Linked DNA regions of Homo sapiens: regions 2 and 3 are each linked to region 1. The links are contacts of gene promoters, found by promoter capture Hi-C in blood cells and fetal thymus (Javierre and others, 2016). All regions are on one chromosome and are shown on one strand. Each heading gives the region's core, a stretch centred on a gene start or on the middle of the fragment in contact. The rest is flanking DNA. Distances are from core to core; before and after follow the strand shown. Region 1 holds the start of CTU1 (cytosolic thiouridylase subunit 1). Region 2 overlaps PRPF31 (pre-mRNA processing factor 31). Region 3 overlaps CNOT3 (CCR4-NOT transcription complex subunit 3).

Evidence for each region. Contacts are between HindIII fragments. The CHiCAGO score rates a contact against its expected background, and 5 or more counts as called.
Region 2: a fragment that was not itself captured here is called in contact with the fragment with the promoter of CTU1 in region 1 in 3 of 17 cell types (fetal thymus, naive CD8 T cells and naive CD4 T cells); the score reaches 5.8 in fetal thymus.
Region 3: a contact is called between a fragment that was not itself captured here and the fragment with the promoter of CTU1 in region 1, in 1 of 17 cell types (naive CD8 T cells). The highest score is 6.3, in naive CD8 T cells.

The regions. Positions count from the first base shown.
Region 1 is chr19:51,107,006-51,111,805 of GRCh38, forward strand. CTU1 (cytosolic thiouridylase subunit 1) reads right to left here and starts at 1,404. Exons shown (of 3, transcript NM_145232.4): 1 at 1,342-1,404. RefSeq lists an enhancer at 1,370-1,699. The HindIII fragment of the contact is 4,633 bases long and covers 1-2,966 here.
Region 2 is chr19:54,115,770-54,120,514 of GRCh38, forward strand. It overlaps PRPF31 (pre-mRNA processing factor 31), which reads left to right. Exons shown (of 14, transcript NM_015629.4): 1 at 1-28; 2 at 2,502-2,686; 3 at 2,804-2,864. The coding sequence starts at 2,510. PRPF31-AS1 (PRPF31 antisense RNA 1) reads right to left here. Exons shown (of 4, transcript NR_186329.1): 4 at 3,741-4,623. Among named protein-coding and RNA genes, the nearest start is that of PRPF31, 2.4 kb to the left of the region's middle. The HindIII fragment of the contact is 1,299 bases long and covers 1,555-2,853 here.
Region 3 is chr19:54,137,950-54,142,995 of GRCh38, forward strand. CNOT3 (CCR4-NOT transcription complex subunit 3) reads left to right here. Exons shown (of 18, transcript NM_014516.4): 1 at 1-44; 2 at 4,980-5,046. The coding sequence starts at 5,030. Among named protein-coding and RNA genes, the nearest start is that of CNOT3, 2.7 kb to the left of the region's middle. The HindIII fragment of the contact is 4,608 bases long and covers 1,493-5,046 here.

The sequences.
Region 1 (4,800 bases), core at 154-2,653:
TCATCCAGCCCATCTGCAGGACAGGACGTAACGTCACCCTGGACTCATCTCTCCTCACCCCCTAAATCTACAGTCACCCAGTCCTGGGGGGTCCACGTCCTGAGGAAGGGAGACGCTCGCAGGGGACAAGGCTGCACAAGTTAGCAGAGCCTCATAGGCCATGATGTGGAATTTTAGGTTTATTCAGGAGGAGATGGGAGCCTTGGGAGGTTTTTGAACAGTAAAGTGGTATGATCTGGCATGTTTTAAAAGGATTCCTAGACTGGTCAACATAGCGAGACCCCATCTCTAAAAAAATAAATAAATAAATTAGCTGCACCTGGTGGCACAGGCCTGTAGTACCAGCTACTCAGGAAGCCAAGGCAGGAGGATCACTTGAGCCCAGGAGGTCAAGGCTGCAGTGAGCCATGATCGCACCAGTGCACTCCAGCGTGGGTGATAGAGTGAGACCTTGTCTCAAATAAAAAAAGTGGGATTCGTTTGGCTGCTGTGTGGGGAGGACTGTTGGTTGTCAGGGACAAGGACAGAAGGCTGGAGGTCAGCACACTAGACAGGAGTGCTGGCAGTAGAGGTGGGAAGAAGTGAAATTTTGGATCTATTTTGAAGGTGGAGCCCACAGGACTTGTATAAGACTGATTGGAGTGGGGACTGGGGCAACGACGAGAGAAAGTGATGAAGGGTAACTTTGAGGTTCTGGCCTGAGCATTGGAGGGACGGTGGGGCCATTTTGTGAGGTGAGAAGACCAGGAATTCCATTTGGCCACGTCAGGTTTGACATGCATGTTAAGCGTCTTCCCTCAAAGACTTTATGGACCCTCGTCACTGAGTCGAGCGCCTCCACCAGGGCCCTCAGAGCTGCCCTGATCCTGACTAGCTGTCACTGGTGACAGGTCTGTCTCTCTGCTTCAAGGCAGGGACAGGGTTGGTCTGGTGCCCTCGCTCCCGCCGCCCTGCGCAGAGTCGGTGCTCAGTAAGTATCTGTAGGATGAGGGAATAATAAGTGCTCCCAGAAGAGAGGCCGCGGACCCCAGGGATGCCTCTGGATTGCAGCCTTGTCAAAAGGACAGATAATGTGTGGCATGGGGGCGGGGACAGGCAGATAGTAACATAGGGGCGGGGGCAAGCAGATGGTCTTATCCTGTCTTGGGGAAGGGAGTGGCCCGGTAAGAGACAGGCCGGACCGCAGCGTTCAAAGTGGGAATCCTGGCTACAAGGCCTCAGGGACACGGGCGCTGGGAAATCACAGAGGCCTTACGCTCGAAGAGACCCTCAACCCTCCCACGGCACCGCAACAAAGAGCCGGAGTCCACATGCCGACCCACCGCAGGAGGAAATACTCACCCGGGCAGAACTCAGTGCTGGGATGCCCACACTGCCCACCACGCGGAAGCCTGGCCCGGAAGTGACTCCGAGACTACCACTCCCATAAGGTCTTGGGGCTTTCTTGCCTAGAACTCCCAGAAGCCCATGCGACACTTCCGCTGGATGCGCCTACGGCTCCGGGGTCCCGCTTGGCCTACAACTCCCAGAAACACTTGCATTGCTCTTTCTGCCGCTCCCAAAATACACTGCTCCCCCTCCCCCCGCGTTTACTTTCTGCGCCTGCGCGCGGCCGCAGGGAGCGGCGGAGCTGCGTGTACTGTTGTCATGGCAGCGCGCTGTCACCCGGCAGGTTGCTGGATGGGCGAAGTAGTTGTATTCTGATTAACTGATTTTGTGGGATTATTATAGGATTTTAAGGGGATTACAGGGCCTATGATTTCTGCCCTTTGAGGCGGGGTTGCGGGTGGGAATTGAAGGTGGAACTGCAGGGGTTGGTCGCTAGTGTAAAAGGCGCAGATAGCGCATGCGTAGAGCAGACTTCGAGGATTGGAGTGGAACTCCGCGCGCACGCGGGGGCTGTCGTGATGCGCGTGCTGGAGACCCAGACTCTAAACAGAAGGATCCAAAGACCCTTCTCACCTAACCCAGGAGCCCAGAGGCTCAGAGACTCAGACCCTTGAGACTAAGGGGGTTAAAAACGCAGACCCCTGGCACCAAAGCACCTGAGAGAACCAGTAGACCTGGAGACAACCGTCTGCACCCTAGACACAGGGATCTGGAGGCCTCCACCCTCCCCACAAGGCCCAAGGGTCTTGAAGACCCCGGTGACTCAAATACCGGGGCACAAGGAGTTTAAGGACTCAGATATCTGAGACCCTTGAGATCCAGGTCCCCAAACCTAGGTCCTCGAAAAAACTGAGGCTCAAAATTCCTCTAGACGGCGCGGTGGCTTACACCTGTAATCCCAGCACTTTGGGAGGCCGAGGCGGGTGGATCACGAGGTCAAAAGATGGAGACCATCCTGGCCAACATGGTGAAACCTCATCTCTACTAAAAATACAAAAATTAGCTGGGCGTAGTGGTGCGCGCCTGTAGTCCCAGCTACTCGGGAGGCTGAGGCAGGAGAATGGCTTGAACCCAGAAGGCAGAGGTTGCAGTGAGCCGAGATCGCGCCACTGCACTCCAGCCTGGCCACAGAGTGAGACTCTGTCTCAAAAAAAAAAAAAAAATCCTCTAGATTAAGGGACCACCAGAGCCTTAGACTGAGATGTGGAGATGTGCAGAGAGCCCCAGGATGTGTAGGTCTACGGCCGGTGATGACGTGAGAAGGAACCCCATGCACCCTGTAGCCCATTTTTTTCCCCCATAACAGGAAACCATGATGCCTTCCTTTCATATTAAATGAGCTCCGTGAGGTCACTCTTAAGCCTTATCATGGGCCAGTTCTGTTCATCTGTGTGCGTTGGTTCATTTGTTGAATTTATTTCCTGAGGTCTCCTTGTGCCAGGCTGCCCCTGGGCTAGGTTTAGGTGACACAAATGAATCAGACTTGGTTACTGTCCTCTGAGCATCCCCCACCCCTTACACCACCACCCTGTCCTCCTGGTGGGGGAGACAGGGACTTAGTCAATATGGAGTGATAAAGCTTGACATGGAAGTGTTAAGAGCCTTGAAAGCTCAATTTCAATCACTGCCAGCCAGGGTGTCAGAAAAAAAAAAAATTCAACAAAGGCTGCTATGTGCCATGCATCATCTCAGTTTGTTCATCTGTGAAAGGGGGGCAATAATAGCCTGCCTCATAGGATTTATGCGAAGTCAAATTGAATTAACAACACCTCTAAAGAATTTAGAACAGCTTCTGGCACATAGTATGTGCTCAACAAGTGGTTATTATTCTCATCTCAATTCTCATAACATTAAGATTATATGTTACATATGAGTTGGGTACAACTGTAATTCTTCTTCTTCTTTTTTTTTTTTTTTTTTTGAGATGGAGTCTCACTATGTCACCCAGGCTGGAGTGCAGTGGCGCGATCTCGGCTCACTGCAACCTCCACCTTCTGGATTCAAGTGATTCTCCTGCTTCAGCCTGCTGGGTAGCTGGAATTACAGGTGCGCTACCACACCTGGCTAATGTTAGTATTTTCAGTAGAGACGGTGTTTCACCATAGTGGCCAGGCTGGTCTCAAACTCCTGACCTCAAGTGATCCCAAAGTGCTGGGATTACAGGTGTGAGTCAGCATGCCCAGCCTTGTAATTCTACTTAGGTGAGGATCTTGAAGCTCAGTGATGTCACTTCCCTGGACTGCCTGACTCTACAGCAGGGGTTGCAAACCTTTCCTGTAAAGGGCCAGGTAGCCAATATTTTAGGCTTTGTGGGCCACAGGGTCTTTGTGGCAACTCTGCTGTTGTATGTTGAAAGCAGCCATTGATATAAGATAAGCAAGTGAGGGTGGCTGTATACCAATAAAACTTTATTGATGGACACTGACATTTGAATTTCATGTAATTTGCATGTGTCAGGAAATATTCTTCTTTTGAAGAATTTTGAAGATTTTACACCATTTAAAGATGTAAAATCATTTGTAGCTTGTGGGCCATGTAAAAACAGGCAGCAGGCCCGATTTGGCTGGTGGTCTCTGGTTTGTAGCTCCTTGCTCAAAGCCTGTCTCCTTAGTCTCCAAGCTGTGCTTGCTCCTGGAAGAGGTGTGAAGTGTGGCAAAGGAGGTTGAGAATTTGAGGGTCGAAATGGCCTTTTAATACAGAAGAAATCGCCTGAGCAAAGAAAGATCTTGTGGCAAGAAAGCACAGGGTGCCTTTTGTTTGAATGCAATTTATGTTATCTAATCAGGTTATGCACTTAAATGCTATAAAATGGAAACAGTGCATAGACTCTACAGTGAAGTCTCCCTGTCGTCTCCCCCCACCCACCCACTGTCTAGTTCTCCTCCTCAGAGGCAGCCTCTGTCCTGCAACAATGTGGGAGTGCATGCTGAATCGGGGTGTATAGAGTTTCCCCATTCTCCTCTGTGGGACCAGGATAAGAGTGGGATATTTGGGGCTCCAGAGATAGATGGGAAAAGAGGTGAGGTCAGCCATGAGAAGCCCTCTCACTCCCAGCCCTCTGCTGTCTGGTTTCTTTCCTGTCTCCCCTAACACAGTCTCCCGATCAACACCAGTGGCCTCTTTATTGACAAATAAAGGTCTAACCTGGGCTCTACCTACTTCTGAGTCTCTTTGCCCTGACCACAAAATCTACCCTCCCTGGTCCTCTTTCTGGCCAAACCATGTCAATCAACTTGCCAGGAGCCTTGTACTCCACAGCGCTGTCATTTCTCTGCAAACTCCCCAGGTGAGCTCATCCACTCCTGCCACTCCCGCAACTTCCGTCTCTGCCCTGATGCCTCCCCACTTTCCTGCATATCTCCACTGCATCCCGAGACTCGGACCTGCACAGTTAGCCCCTGGTGGTGGCAC
Region 2 (4,745 bases), core at 954-3,453, 3.0 Mb after region 1:
TAGAAACAGTGGTGCGCGGAGAGGAGAGGTGAGTGTGATGGGGACCACGGGGAGCGGGAGGCTGGGCTCCTGGGTCTGGGAGAAGAAGTGTGTGAGGAAAAAGGCGGGTCTTTACAGCTTGGTTTTTGTTTTTTTGTTGTTTGTTTGTTTTGAGACGGAGTCTCGTTCTGTTGCCCAGGTTGGAGAGCAGTGGCGCGATCTCGGCTCATTGCAACCTCCGTCTCCCGGGTTCAAACGATTCTTCTGCCTCAGCCTCCAGAGTAGCTGGGATTACAGGCGCCCGCCACCACCCCTGACTAATTTTTGTATTTTTAGTAGAGACGGGGTTTCCCCATGTTGGTCAGGCTGGTCTCGAACTCCTGATCTCGTGATCCGCCCGCCTCGGCCTCCCAAAGTGCTGTGATTACAGGCATGATCCACCGCGCCTGGCCAGTTGTTTGTTTGTTTTGTCTGAGACGGAGTTTCGCTCTTGTTGCCCAGGCTGGAGTGCAGTGGCGCGATCTCGGTTCACTGCAACCTCCGCCTCCCGGATTCAAGCGATTCTCCTGCCTCAGCCTCCCGAGTAGCTGGGATTACAGGCGCGCACCACCACGCCCGGCTAGTTTTTTGTATTTTTAGTAGAGACGGGGTTTCACTATGTTGGCCAGGCTGGTCTCCAACTCCTGACCTCAGATGATCCACCCGCCTGGGCCTCCCAAAGTGCTGGGATTACAGGCATGAGCCACCGCTCCCGGCCTTTTACAGCCTGTTTACCCAAAAGTCTTAATATGCGCCTACCATGGTGTGGCCCTGGGGATGTGGAAGGAGCAAAAATTGTTCGCTACCCTCTTAGAGCTTTGGTTGATGCCTGGCAGACAGGCTTTATCAAATAATTACTTCATTAATCACAAATGTGTGAAGTGCCTTACTGTAGACACGCAGAGCGTGCGGGACACGTTATCACAAAGCAACCTCCTGTAGTCTAGAGTGGGGCGTGTGGGTCAGGGAGGTGGAACGTGAGAGCTGAAGGCTGAGGAGATGCTGGGCTACTAAGAAGTGAGGAGAGCCAGACGCCATGGCTCACTCCTGTAATCCCAGCACTTTGGGTGGCCCAGGCGAAAGGATCGCTTGAGCCCAGGAGTTTGAGACCAGCCTGAGCAACACAGTGAGACCCTGTCTCTACAGAAAAATTTAAAAATTAGCCGGGCGTGCTGGTGCGTGCCTGTCATCTCAGCTATCGGGAGGCTGAGGCGGGAGAATCGCTTGAGCCCAGGTGATCGAGGCTGCCGTGAGCTATGATGGCGCCACTGCACTGCAGCCTAGGTGACAGAGCAAGACATGGTCTCAAAAAAAAGAAAAGAAAAGAAAAAACAAAGTGAAGGAAAGGGCCACTTTAGTTACAAGGGACTCCTGTACAAAGACCTGGAGGCGGGAAGAGACCGATAATGTAACCAACTCAAGTTTCTGCTACTCAGAGGCAGAGGAAGTGGGGGGTGGTGAAAGTAAAGCAGCTTTACTGATCAAATGCTCGCAGATGAGAAATGGCCAAGCTAATGTCTTTAGAAGACCATTTCAAGCTTTAGGCTGGGGAGAGGGGCTTAAAAAGGGGAACTTTGAATGGGAGGCATACAGGAGTGGTGCTGGGTACAAGGTATGTGTGTCTTGCTCCGAAGGCTGTCTTGAGTCACGGGCCACCTGGAGCATGGGCTGGTGTCAAGTCAACAATGGCCACGTTGTAGATTGATCGCCTTGAGGTGATCTCTGGAGTTTTGCAGCTGGGTTTCCATACCTAGTTTGTTTCAAGATTAGCCCCTGCGGCGAGGCGCGGTGGCTTACGCCTGTAATCCCAACAGTTTGGGAGGCCAAGGTGGGTCGCTCACTTGAGGTCAAGAGTTCAAGACCAGCCTGGCTTACATAGTGAAACCTTGACTCTACAAAAAAAAAAAAAAAAAATTAGCTGGGCATGGTGGCAGGTGCCTGTAGTCCCAGCTACTCAGGAGGCTGAGGCAGGAGAATCGCTTGAACCCAGGAGGTGGAGGTTGCAAGTGAGCCAAGACTGCGCCACTGCACTCCAACCTGGGTGTCAGAGCCAGACTCCATCTTTAAAAAATAAATAAATAAAGATTAGCCCCTGGAACTTCTAAGTAAGCACATAGATAAGCCAGCAGTGCAAGACAGTATCTAGTGGGAAAGGAGGGAAACAAAGAATTTCAAAGTATGTTTTCAAGGCTAAAGGCAAGAAAGGAATAAGAAAGTTTGCAAATGCATTTGGAATCTACACCACTTGGTTCCAGTAAGTCTTAGCAAGGTGGCGGTCATAGGGGTGTGCTGCGTCTTGCACAGGTCGGAGCTGGAGACTCGCCAGTGAACAAAACAAACTAAAGCACCTGTTGTCGTGGAGCCTGCATGCTAGTGGGGTTGATAAAGAAGGACCAGGGTCTTCTGGGGGAGAATCATCGCTCAGTAATAAGGAGGGACTTTGTCGGGGCAAGTTTTTAGGGAACGCTGCTGTCCCTCCCCAGGCCTCGGGATGTCTCTGGCAGATGAGCTCTTAGCTGATCTCGAAGAGGCAGCAGAAGAGGAGGAAGGAGGAAGCTATGGGGAGGAAGAAGAGGAGCCAGCGATCGAGGATGTGCAGGAGGAGACACAGCTGGATCTTTCCGGGGATTCAGTCAAGACCATCGCCAAGCTATGGGATAGTAAGATGGTAAGAGGACAAGAGGTGTTCCTAGCAGGGGGCTCTAGACAGAATCTCCCAGAAGGGGGTGATACAGGCTTCTTTTTGAAGAGTGCTGGATTCTGACTGTCTTCTCCTTTCCTACAGTTTGCTGAGATTATGATGAAGATTGAGGAGTATATCAGCAAGCAAGCCAAAGCTTCAGAAGGTGCTTCCTCCCACTCTGTGCCCCTCCCCATCTCCTGTCTCTCCTGCCAGGCCCCCTGGCTCCCTGGCTGCTTGTGGCTGGGTATATCTCCTTCTCAGCCTTTTCCAGAGCCTTCTTTTTTTTTTGTTTCACCCCAACCCGTTCCCTTTTCCACTAAATATATATTGCATTGTAAAGCTCATGCTTCTTAAGTCCTTCCTGTGTGCTGAGCTTACTGATCATGATAGGACTCAGCTTGAGGTTTCCCAGACTTCACTGATTCACATGACCGGTTACAGGGTTTTTGCCACATCTATAAGCCGCTTATCCTATTATTTGCTTAACATATTCTTTGAGTCTAGGACTTTTTTTCTTAAATTTATCTGAGAAGGAAGCAAATTGCTACCATGAATGGAAAACTGGTATCATTTGGCAAAGACAAAGTCACTGTATAAAAATAGATATATAATTATTTAGGAACCACCTAAGGCCGGGCGCCGTGGCTCACGCCTGTAATCCCAGCACTTTGGGAGGCGGAGGCAGGTGGATCATGAGTTCAGGAGATCGAGACCATCCTGGCTAACACGGTGACACCCCGTCTCTACTAAAAATACAAAAAATTAGCCAGGCGTGGTGGCGGGTGCCTGTAGTCCCAGCTACTCAGGAGGCTGAGGCGGGAGAATGGCGTGAACCTGGGAGGCGGAGCTTGCAGTGAGCCGAGATCGTGCCACTGCACTCCAGCCTGGGCGACAGAGCAAGACTCCGTCTCAAAAAAAAAAAAAATAACCTAAAACCTTTTCTCATGCCCAAATTGAGAGAACACTAGCTTATCTCATGAGTGCTCAGACTCACTCTTAAGAGGGCAGTCCTGTTACCATTCCTATTCTTTTTTTTTTTTCCTTGAGATAGAGTCTCCCTCTGTCGCCCAGGCTGGAGTGCAGTGATGTGTTCTTGGCTCATTGCAACCTCCACCTCCCGGGTTCAAGCGATTCTCCTCCCTCAGCCTTATGTATAGCTGGGATTACAGGTATGCAACACCATGCCTGGCTATTTTGTATTTTTTAGTAGAGATGGGGTTTCACCATGTTGACCAGGCTAGTCTCGAACTCCTGACCTCAAGTAATCCGCCCACCTCGGCCTCCCAAAGTGCTGGGATTACAGGCATGAGCCACTACGCCCAGCCTTCCCATTCTTCTTGAATGGAATTTGTTGATGACAGGAAGCCATAGGAGGTTTCTGGGGAAAGAAGTGTAGTGAGAGGGCAGAGTTTCGGGAGACTCACTGCTTGCTTTCTTTAACGTTTACCTGGGCACCCAGTTGAATCGCCCAGGTCTTTGCTCTCAAAGTACTCAAGGTCTAGTGGAAGAGGCAGGCCAGGTTCCAGACAGCTATCAGTGGTGGTACCAAGCTGGGGACACCGGAGCCACAGGAGGGACTGGCTGACCCTGCCCCAGGTGTCAGGAAGAATCGATAGCTGAATTGGACTGTAGAGCATGAATGCATGTGCCAGGCAAAGAAAGGGAGAAGGGGGCCCAGGGAAAGACAGCGGCAGGCCCGGGGCCTCAGATATCCGGAGAGAGAATCCTGCAGAGTTCCAGATGCCAGGCCAAGGAATTTCTCCCTCCAGAGGGTTATGGGACACAGAAAGTGACATTTCCTGATGTCAGGCCAGGCTCAGGGATGGAGTCAGACCCCGTCACACCCGGTGTCTGGTTGAGGAGGCAGAGGTGAAACATCTCACAAGCTGTGGCAGTCCCTGTTTACTGGAGGTGCACAAGTGCTGCGGGTACACAGAGGAGGCGTCTGATCCTTCCAGAAAGGGAGGGAAGGATTCTGAGTCGCTGCCTGAGTCTTAAGGACTTAAAGAGCCATTTGAGCATCAGGGTTAGGAGTGCAGACTCT
Region 3 (5,046 bases), core at 2,547-5,046, 3.0 Mb after region 1:
CGCCTGTCGCGATACGCTCCTCAGCGGCGGCGCCAGCTCCTGTGGTGAGAGCGTCAGGCTCGACTGGGCCGGACCCCTTCCCTTCCTCCCCCCGGCGCCATCGGCCGCCCTCCCCGCCGCCTCCCGCCCTGGCGACACCGCCGTCTGTCGCGACATGGCCTCCCCTCGCCTGCCCCCTGCCGCCGCCTCTGCAGCGCGGGGCTCCCGGCGGGGGGCGGCTCCCTCCCTCTCGCCCTCCCGTTCCTGCGCCTCTTTCACGTTCCTCAGCGCCTCCCGGGGGTCCTTCCGCGACCCGGACCCCGGGCCCCGCCCGCCGCCGCCTCCCCGCGTGGCATCGCGTCGGGCCCCCCGGTAGGGGTGTGAGGGTGCGAAGCCTCCCGGGCGCGAGGTGCCCGCCCCTCTCCGCGTCGGTATTGGCTCCTGGCTGGAAGGATGGAGGCGCCCCTGGTCCCAGGTGCCCGCCCTCTCGGGGCTCAGGTGCCTGCCCCCCTCGGCCTCGGTCCTTCGCGTTGTGGGGCAGCCTCCGCGCCGGGGCTTCTCCCTCGACGGTGGCGGGGAGGGGGGGTGGTGGTCGGGACGAGGACCCCAGCTGGGTGGGGGAGTCACCCTTCCCAGGACCGAGGCCGCCCTCCGCATCCCTCCTCACTGCTCCCGGGAGCGCAGCCTCCCCTGGATCTCAGGTTCCAGCTGCCCGTCTGTATCGGATGGGAGCCTCTTGGGAGAGGAGTGGAGGAGAAACTCCCCGTTAGTTGGAGCCTTTGCCGAAGTTTCCACCTCTGTAGTCTGCAGCTCTTCCCTCTCATAGCGAGTAGCGCCCTGGGTGGCTCCAGCCTCGCCATCCCGCTGCACTGGGCGCCTGCCTTTTTGGGGGAGTTTGGCTTTCCCCCACCTGGGGTACAGGACCGTCCTCAGTGTGGCCCACGTCTGGTCTCAGCTCTCACACTTCTTTGATCCTGGCGTCTGCCCCTGGCTTTGCAGCCTTGAACTCCCCTGCATCGTGACTCTCCGACCTTCTGGGTGTGGGCGTCTCCCAGTGATATCAGGACCACTGTGGTCTTGTTGCTGGGGGCTGCTGGGATCCCCTGGCGCTCAGGTGCCTGGTGAAAGACACTAAGCCGCCACGCTGTCCATGTTAGTGAGCTCCCACTGCGGGCAGCACCAGCCCCTCTTTCTGAGCAGTCCCTGCCTCTCAGTGCAGGGCGGCCACCCACCCCGGGGTGAGCTCTCCTGTCCTTTTGGTGAGGGGTTTTGATGTCTCCCCTCCCTCCCTTCACCCCTGCCTGAGTATGAGGCTTCTTCCATCTTCACACCAGTCTCCTCCTTTAGGGTGTCAGCTCTCCAAGGACCAAGAAGCCCACTGCCCTTGATATTTGCATCAGATCCCACACTGTGGGTTTGTTGACTTCCCATCTACCCTTACGCTGGGTGTCAGCAGTTGGAGAACAAGGGTTTCGCCTTCTGGCCCCGCTGCTGGTACCCCATGAGAGTAGGAAGCTTCCTAGACCCGGGTTCCTGTACTGCGAGGTGGGGGCTCTTCCCTCTGGGGCTGTGCCTTCTCTCCAGGGTAAGGACCCTTTCTTGGTGTCACCTCCCCCAGGGATAAGGTTCTTGCCATCCTTGGTATTGGTATGGCTGCTTTTCTGGATTTGAGGTGTCCACGCCTCTGCATGTGTCCCCACCGTAAGGCTGAGGACCCCTCTCGGATGCAGGTGCCCCCGGCTAATGCTTCCAAAACCCCCTCTTGATTTGTCACTGTATGGGGTAAGGCATAGTTTCCTGGCTGTGTGGATGTAAGATACCTGAGTCTCAAGCGGGAGACTCCACTGTAGACCCTGTCCCTGGGACCAGAGACTTCTCTGGTGTAGACTTTCCAAGGTGGGAGATTCCAGCCCCCCACCCTTGGCATGGGGCATCTCAGTGGAGATGACTACCTCTACCCCAGGCCCTAACGCATCCTTCTTCTGGAGTCTCAGAGCCTCTGTGTGGCCACGTCAGCAGCCACCTGGGTTAAGGATCACCCTTCAACATCACTTCTCAGAGCTCCTTGCTGCAGAGGCGGAAGCTCTCCCAGATCAAAGGTGCCTCATGACAAAGACCACTCTGTGGGCACATGACGGCCCCCAAGGTTAAGGACCACCCGGTGTTAGTTTCCCAGGGCTGACCTCCTGCCCCTCCCTCCTCGAGTCTTTGTGTGGTGGTATCATCTTCCCTGAGATGAAGTCTGGGGGGCTCTTCTTTACTGGTTTTGGCTCTGATTTTAGCGTGTTGGCTCCTGTGAGGCTGGTGTCCTGCTCACCTCCCCCCACCCCGCCACCCGCCTTGTGGGTCCCTTCCCTGTGGGGATGTGTGTTCCTCTTGGGTAAGTCTCCTCCTGGGCCGAGGTTCCCAGATTCCTCAGTGCTCTTGGAGAGCCTTTGCTGCTGGAGCACAGGTTCTTCACGCCTGAGAGTGGACCTGCGATCACCACCTTCCTTGGAGGATCTTGGTGGATGCCCCCCTGACTACAGCAAATGGGGCTCTTTCTTCTCTGGCGGCGTCTCTGCTTCGAGACTCAGGCTCCAGCTTCCCTTCTCTCTGGTCCTTTGCTGGGGGGACCAGAGGTACAGATACCCTCATGATATAGGGATTTTCTTAGCGGGGAAGGTGTTGTCTCTACTGTGGCTAAGGCTCCAGCCTCTCTAGGGGACAAGTACCCTGGGCCTCTGGCACTTGCCCCTTCTCTGTGGAGGAGCTGCCTCCTCACTGGGTCTCAGCTGTAGCCGACTTCGATGTCACACTGTTCTGTCTGAAACATCACCTCCCTGGGTTAGCGCTCTTGTTCCCCTCCTCCTGGCTTGTGACCCCTCCAGGACTTCCTTCTCTTGCTGCCACAGTGTGGTCTCCTGTCTGTGGGTATTCTTCCTCTGCACTAGGATACCAGTCCTTTCCGTGTGGAGACACAGGGAGGGCGTCACCTGCCTAAGGTGTTGATTGCCTTGTTTAGGGGTGTAGACCATGAGACCTCTTCTCTCTCTGGGCTGGAGCACCTGCCCATGACCCTCTGTTGGGTTCTTGGGATGGAAAGAGGGAGTGTAAACTCTCGTTTCACATTCTTGTTCCCCCTATGCAGTAAGAGGCTTTTCTGTGTTGGGGTGTTGGACTTTGGTGAGGATCCCTGCACACCTGAGCTCTGGTGTCCAGGCCCTTGCCTTGTGTGAGCTCCCTGGGTCAAAGAGGCTTTCCCCTCCTCAGCCTGAATCCCCACTGTGGCACCTTCTCCTGGGTCCTTTTGTTGGTTGCTTTGCCTTCTTAGAGATTCCCCAGGTAGGGCGTGATAGCTGACCTGGGCGGGGGCTGCTGCGGCTTTCTTTAGGTTGGGCCTTTTACTGAGGAGATTTAAATTCCCTCAAGTGTAAGGTAGCACCCCTACCTATTATCACCCAGAATGGGTCCCTGCGGTGTTGGGAAAATTCTCCCTGGGGGTAAGGTACCAGCCCTGTCCTTTGTGGGCTTCTTGTTCTAAAGCATATCCGTCCCATATGGTTGCTGCTAGTCACATGTGGTGATTAGTAACTAGTTAAAAATGAAAAATTCAGTTCCTCCATTACACTTGCCACATTTCAGATGTTCAGTGGCCAACAGATATGCGCAAATAGAGTGTTTCCAGCATTGCAAAGTTCTGTTGGATAGCACTGTTTGCCAGATGTTCCCTTCTTTGTGGGTGAGGACTCTTTTGGTGTGACTTCCCTCTGTATTGAGGCTCTTGTTCCTCAGTATGGGGCTGTTTCTGTCTTTACAGTAAGTGACTACTCCAGGGTTCCCTGCCCTGCACACGTAGAGTGGGAGCGGCCCGTGGATCCCAGGGAACTGTGCTTTTCATTGTAGGCCCCCTCCCTGGAGGGGAAGAGGGCAATCTCCGCTGGTATCTCAGAAGTCTTCTTCTGAGGCATAAGCCTCTCTTCCCAGGGCTCCCCTGGTCTCGCTGTCAGGCCCTAAGGTATGTCTTCCCTTGGACTAAAGCTCCTTGGAACTCCCTTTTGACCTCAGTCTTCTCTGGGTTCCAGGTAACTTCCTTTAAAATAAAGACGCTCCTCTCTTGAAGTTTTGGGTTCCTGCCCTGATGGTCTATGTCTCCCTGACTCTAAATTACCAATCCACTTGCTATGGGATTCCTCCGTGAGTGCAGATCGGCTCCCTCACAGCTGCGGTACCTTTGCACCCTCTTATCTTAGTAAGATTTCTGTCTTCTCCCAGGTCTCTCTTGGGTACTGCCTTCTGCCCCCAAATCTCTAAGCCTTCTTGGTATTAGCTTCTTTGGGTTAGGAGTGTTATTTCCTTTTGGTTTAAGGATCCTGCTCTGGAATAAATGTCTTGGTGGTTTGAGTCCCTTCTACTTGGCATTCAGCCCTGTCTGCATGAGCGGGTTCAGCTCTTCACAGCTTTCGGCATCTCTGCTCGCCGTCGTTTTCCCCCACCCCCAATCTTTCTTCTCCTACCTACAGCTTACACACACACACACACACGCCCTTCTCTGTGAGCTGCCAGTTTCATTTGTCTCCTGACTTGTCTGAGGGATGACCTCTCCTAGCCACCTCTGCCCAGCCCCTCTGAGTAGGAAGTGTGATCTCCAGGGCTAATGCCTCCATCCCAGTCATCAGCTGTGTGCAGCATGACTGTCCTGCTCTGAAAAACCTTTTTGAGTGTATTCTGGGGAGAAGGTACTCCATGCTCTAGGAATTTTCCACTTCCTGAGTCAGAGGCACACAAAAAAGTATGTAACTTTTCTTGTTTCAACAAACTTATGGGGTCCCCTGTTGGCCAGACACTATGCTGGGCAGTCAAGCGAGCATCAGGAGAACTGGGGCTGGTCTCTTGTCAGATAGCAAATGCTTCTTCTCTTTACCAGTCCCACCTACCTCACTATGCTGACTAGGTCCATGTCTCTGGGTTTTTACCAGCCAGGGAATACGTGTTAATTCCTCTCCAATCTCTCCTAGCAGCGTCCGTCTCCAAGAGAGTATGAAGAGAGTGCGTCTGTAGGGCAGGGAAGATGGCGGACAAGCGCAA